Linked DNA regions of Homo sapiens: region 2 is linked to region 1. Evidence: promoter capture Hi-C in human tissues and cell types (Jung and others, 2019). All regions are on one chromosome and are shown on one strand. The core of a region is centred on a gene start or on the middle of the fragment in contact, and the rest is flanking DNA. Distances in the headings are between cores, read along the strand shown. Region 1 holds the start of PARP14 (poly(ADP-ribose) polymerase family member 14). Region 2 overlaps CASR (calcium sensing receptor).

Region 1 (2,700 bases), core at 130-2,629:
ACCTACTGCCTGGCTCCTTCTTCCCCTTCACGGTCACATTTCTGCAAAGAGCGTGTTACGCTCTCTGCTTCCACTTCCTTCCCTCCCTTTCAGTCTTCAGTAGCTGCCATCTCCCTCTCCTCCCTCCTCACCAGGAGACTATGCTTGCCGCTCCTCAGCAGTCCAGCAGACACTTCTCTGACCTGAGGTATCGGTAGCACTGGAATGATAATCCCCCCGCCCCCCTCGACTTGCAACACTGCTTTATTTGGGGTCAAGGAAACACACAGCCCCAGCTTCTCTCCCATCACTCGGCCTCCCCTCTTGCAGATGCCACTATTATCCAGCCACTTGCACGGGCCATCCATGGCTGACCATGGAGTCATCCTTGAGCTTCTCCTTCTCTCAAGGCTCACATTCTTCAGCAAGTCCTGCTTTCACTATTAATTGAGAATCCTCGTTTTCTCAGTTCTTCTCTGCCAGCACCCCAGTCTCAGCCACCCTTGTCTCTCACTTAGGACACTATGGTAGCCACTTGGCTGATCTCTCTGCCTCCACTCTAGCCACCACGCAGCAGCCGGAGTGATCCTGTACATGTGAATCACACCGTGGAACCCCACTTCCTAACCCTCCAAGGCTATCCCCTGATATCCTGGGGTTATCAGGTTACATGTCACCGCCCTATAAACCCTCCCTGAGCCGCCACAGCTGGACTAGGAGCCACTCCTCATCTGTTCCAGGAACACAAGTATATTCTTTCCCAGAGCACCTATTGCCCACTGTGTTCACCATAGCTCCGTGAGCTCAGCGAGGGTTCAGTGAGTGAGTGCATGGCGCCTAGTAAATATTCCACAAAAAAAACTGTGAGTGTAATTGTTTCCCCCACATTTCTAGACATGTAGTATTAACAGATCAAGGAACAGAAAGCAAAACAGGGAAAGCAACGTAAAATTCTGATAATCACAATGATTGCTGAAAAAGTCCCCAAATAGGCAGCAAACATTCTAAAGGGGCCACAGTTTGTGAGTCATTTTATTCTTTTGTAAAGGGTCGGCTTGCGGCAAAAATTAAATGATCTTTGCGTTTGGGCAAGGTCTGGTGCCCCAAAGCTGCCGACTTGATCTGCGGTTGGGGCGAGCGGCAGGTAGGGGGCCCGGAGTTAGGAGGGGGTGTGGGAGCCCGTGGAGCACAGGTGAACTGAGGCCGCCTTCCCGGGGCGCCGCTGGCCAGCCCCAAAGGGTTACTTTGGCCTTGGCTGTGGGCCGAATGCGAAGGTGGGGAGGTGGGCGGGGGATGACTCTGCCATTCCTGGGTCCGCTGTGTTAGGCTGAAGGCAAAAGGAAACCAAGGCCTGGGAGTTTTCCAGGAAACGAAAGCGAAAGAGTCAAAGTTAGCGGCCCGGAGTTGGCGCGGCCCCTGCAGTCCGGCGGAGAGCGGAGCTGAGGATGGCTGTGCCCGGCTCCTTCCCGCTGCTGGTCGAGGGCTCCTGGGGCCCCGACCCCCCGAAGAACTTGAACACCAAGTTGCAGATGTACTTCCAGAGCCCGAAGAGGTCGGGAGGCGGCGAGTGTGAGGTCCGCCAGGATCCCAGGAGCCCATCCCGCTTCCTGGTGTTCTTCTACCCGGAGGACGGTGAGGGGCGCGAGGGGTGGGGTGAGGAGGGGGCACCTCTGCCCTCCCTCCAGGGAAATGGCGGCAGGGCACGCACGGGAGGGTGACCCGCCCGACTTCGGCGGCTGCTGTAGCGGAGGTGGCCGGGGCGGGGGCGGGGGCGGGGGCGGCAGAATGGATTCCGAGCGCACCCGGGGCGCTGCGGTTCCCCGGCGCCCTGCGCTTCCAGGCGCTTAATGGCGCGGCCCGGAGGTGGCGGCGGAACCGCGCAAGTAACTCTTTATCCCTCGATCGTTTTCTGTCTTTCCCTGTTGTGGTGGTGTTATTGTTTGTTGTTGTTGTTGTGGAAGTGAGTCTATCCTCTTATCATCCTTTTCTGTCTTTTCCTGTTGTTATTATTCTTGTGTGGGGAAGGAAACTGATTAAGAAACGTGGCAAGTCACAGAGATTCCTTGTGGTTCTTGGAGATTCCCAGGGGTCCCGGGGTCACTTGGGAGAGGGGCAGAGGCGCTACCTAAAATCACACTGCCTGAATGTCAACGTAGAGCCGTCACAGCGGCCACATTGGAGGGGCTGTCGATCGACCACAGGTGCCCATTGTCGAGGGCCTGCCGGGGCCTCTTCTCCGAGTCTCTAGTGGCCCTCAGATTGGGAGCAAGGATGATATTCTGAAGTGATTGTGGGTTGGGAGATTTGAGCTTTGGAGGGAAAGTCGGCAAAGTTCCCTCCTTACAGACCCACCACTACTTGGTGGGCCAAGAGCCCAGAGGTGATCTGCTGGCTCAAGGGCCTCCCTGGTCTGCAATGGGAAGCCAGTGACCTGCAGCTCCCAGAATGGGCACCTTTTCCACTGGCATCTTATGGATGATGACCTATCGGGATCTAGTCAACCCCTAATTCCGCTTTCATGTCGCTAGATTTGGAGAAGCATTCGGGCCAGAGGAGAGGCAAGGAGGCTGAGGCTGAGGCCATGCAATTAGAGTGCCCAAGCAGGGATCCAAAAAGGAAAAATGAAACAGAAAAAGAATGGCGCACAGAAGGAAGGAAGGAGGGGGACAGGAGATATGCTTGGCTCATGGCCCTTATGAAAACAAAATACCATGTTTTCCT
Region 2 (2,700 bases), core at 188-2,687, 390 kb before region 1:
GGTGACAGAGCAAGACCCTGCCAAAAAAAAAAAAAAAGAAGAAGAAAAACAATTTTATTGGTAGAGGCGGGGGGAATAATAGAGATACAGCACCAGCTCCCTGCCTCTAAAATGTGGGCACCTGGGTAACTAGATAGCGCAGGAAGTTAGAACAAATAAAAGCAGCAAACTCTGTGACTGAAGTTTCAGCACATGGATGGCAAATATTTTCAAGTTTGGTGAAAATAGGTAAGAGATCAAAGCCCAAGAATAAACCCTGGGGTCATTACAGGATTTCCTGTAAAGGCATCAGGAAATGTTTTTGGAAGAATGTGATTGTCTTCGTTGATATCAACCCAAAGATGTGGTTATTGTTCAGAATGTCCTGATTTTCTTTAAATGTTTTGTTTCTATCTGACCTCTCATTATAAATGAGAAACTTATAAATTATAAATATACACTCATTATAAATGAAGATTGCTTGGTAATGGACTAATGGATAATTGTTTCTGCTTCTTTAGGATGTTCTAAATTTTTCCCAAGTTTTGTACATTAAGCACAAAATTATAACAGGAAAATAAAGAAAAGAATTTAAAATAAACATGCAACCAAATTTTAAACAGATAAGTATATCATATTAGATAGGAATCACCATACTGGGTCAGTCACCCCTCCTCCAAATTTTTCTTTATTCTTTTTTTTTTATTATACTTTAAGTTTTAGGGTACATGTGCACAACGTGCAGGTTTGTTACATATGTATACATGTGCCATGTTGGTGTGCTGTACCCATTAACTCGTCATTTACCATTAGGTATATCTCCTAATGCTATCCCTCCCCCCTCCCCCCACCCCACAATAGGCCCTGGTGTGTGATGTTCCCCTTCCTGTGTCCATGTGATCTCATTGTTCGATTCCCACCTATGAGTGAGAATACGTGGTGTTTGGTTTTTTGTCCTTGTATTAGTTTGCTGAGAATGATGGTTTCCAGCTTCATCCATGTCCCTACAAAGGACACGAACTCCTCATTTTTTATGGCTGCATAGTATTCCATGGTGTATATGTGCCACATTTTCTTAATCCAGTCTATCGTTGTTGGACATTTGGGTTGGTTCCAAGTCTTTGCTATTGTGAATAGTGCCACAATAAACATATGTGTGCATGTGTCTTTATAGCAGCATGATTTCTAATCCTTTGGGTATATACCCAGTAATGGGATGGCTGGGTCAAATGGTATTTCTAGTTCTAGATCCCTGAGGAATCGCCACACTGACTTCCACAATGGTTGAACTAGTTTACAGTCCCACCAACAGTGTAAAAGTGTTCCTATTTCTCCACATCCTCTCCAGCACCTGTTGTTTCCTGACTTTTTAATGATCGCCATTCTAACTGGTGTGAGATGGTATCTCATTGTGGTTTTGATTTGCATTTCTCTGATGGCCAGTGATGATGAGCATTATAAATGAAGATTGCTTGGTAGTGGACTAATGGATAATTGTTTCTGCTTCTTTAGGATTTTCTAAATTTTTCCCAAGTTTTGTATATTAAGCACAAAATTATAACAGGAAAATAAAGAAAAGAATTTAAAATAAACATGCAACCAAATTTTAAACAGATAAGCATATCATATTAGATAGGAATCACCATATTGGGTCAGTCACCCCTCCTACAAATTTTTCCAGAGCTCTAATTAGCTCCCAAGAGTTTCATGGGACTTTTAAATTTCTGAACGGGCCGAGGACATAGAATAGTGGAAAAGAGGGGGATTCTAGGCAGTATGACAGATAAGTTACACGTCTTTGGATGAGGCACTTAAGCTTTCTTTGTCTCACTTTCCACTATGAAAAGTACATAGGCCAGGCATGGTAGCTCATGCCTGTAATCCCAGCACTTTAGGAGGCCAAGGCAGGAGGATCATTTGAGGTCAGGAGTGTGAGACAAGCCTGGGCAACATGGTGAAACTTCATCTGTACAAAAAATACAAAAAATTAGCTGGGCATGATGGCATGCACCTGTAATCCCAGCTACTTGGGAGGCTGAGGTGGAAGGCTCCCTTGGGTCCAGGAGGCAGAGGTTGCAATGAAGCAAGATGTAGCCACTGCACTCCAGCCTGGGCAACAGAGCCAGACTTTGTCTCAAAAAAAGAAAAGTAGATAGACTATTACCTGCCATAATTACCAACTATGGTTGTTTGCCAAATAAAACAAGTGATTTGAAAGGAACTTCAGGAATATAGGCAAAATATAAATAATTATTAAAACCATGGGTGACTGAAGCTTAGAGAATTTGCTTTTGAAATCTCAGGAAGTACCATGGAATGCAATGATTTCTTCTGTCAGGTTTCTTAGTTGGAGGCAATAGAATTCACTCTAACTAGTTCAAGCAGAAAGGTACTTGTTATATGGTATTAGGAAGCTTATAACATTTTGGGAGGCTCAGTGATCCAAATTTAGTTGCTATACAATCAGGATCAATTCACCCAGGAGAAATACCTAATCCCCCTATGAGGGTGTTCTGGCAAAAGCTTCATAACCTCCCCTGCCTTCCACTTAGCACCAAGACACAGAGAACAGGACACTGGAACCTTCACTGAAGCTGGAGGAACCAAATCCCTCTGCCTGTGCTTGGCCCCACTCACACCAACTTTCCAAGTCTCATATCAGCCACATGCAGAGCCCTGGCTGTCAAGGAGTCTGGAAATGTAGCATTTGTTTCCCAGCCT

The links. The method cuts DNA at HindIII sites, captures the fragments that hold promoters and counts their contacts. A contact is called where the count stands out against the background at its distance.
Region 2: a contact is called between a fragment that was not itself captured here and the fragment with the promoter of PARP14 in region 1, in 1 of the 25 tissues and cell types used here (pancreas).

Annotation. Positions count from the first base shown.
Region 1 is chr3:122,679,460-122,682,159 of GRCh38, forward strand. It overlaps PARP14 (poly(ADP-ribose) polymerase family member 14), which reads left to right and starts at 1,380. Exons shown (of 17, transcript NM_017554.3): 1 at 1,380-1,611. The coding sequence starts at 1,425. RefSeq lists enhancers at 368-487, 891-1,663, 1,088-1,487, 2,029-2,118 and a silencer at 1,728-1,777. The HindIII fragment of the contact is 18,937 bases long and covers 1-2,700 here.
Region 2 is chr3:122,290,059-122,292,758 of GRCh38, forward strand. CASR (calcium sensing receptor) reads left to right here. Exons shown (of 7, transcript NM_000388.4): 7 at 1-1,571. Among named protein-coding and RNA genes, the nearest start is that of CSTA, 34 kb to the right of the region's middle. The HindIII fragment of the contact is 3,234 bases long and covers 1-2,700 here.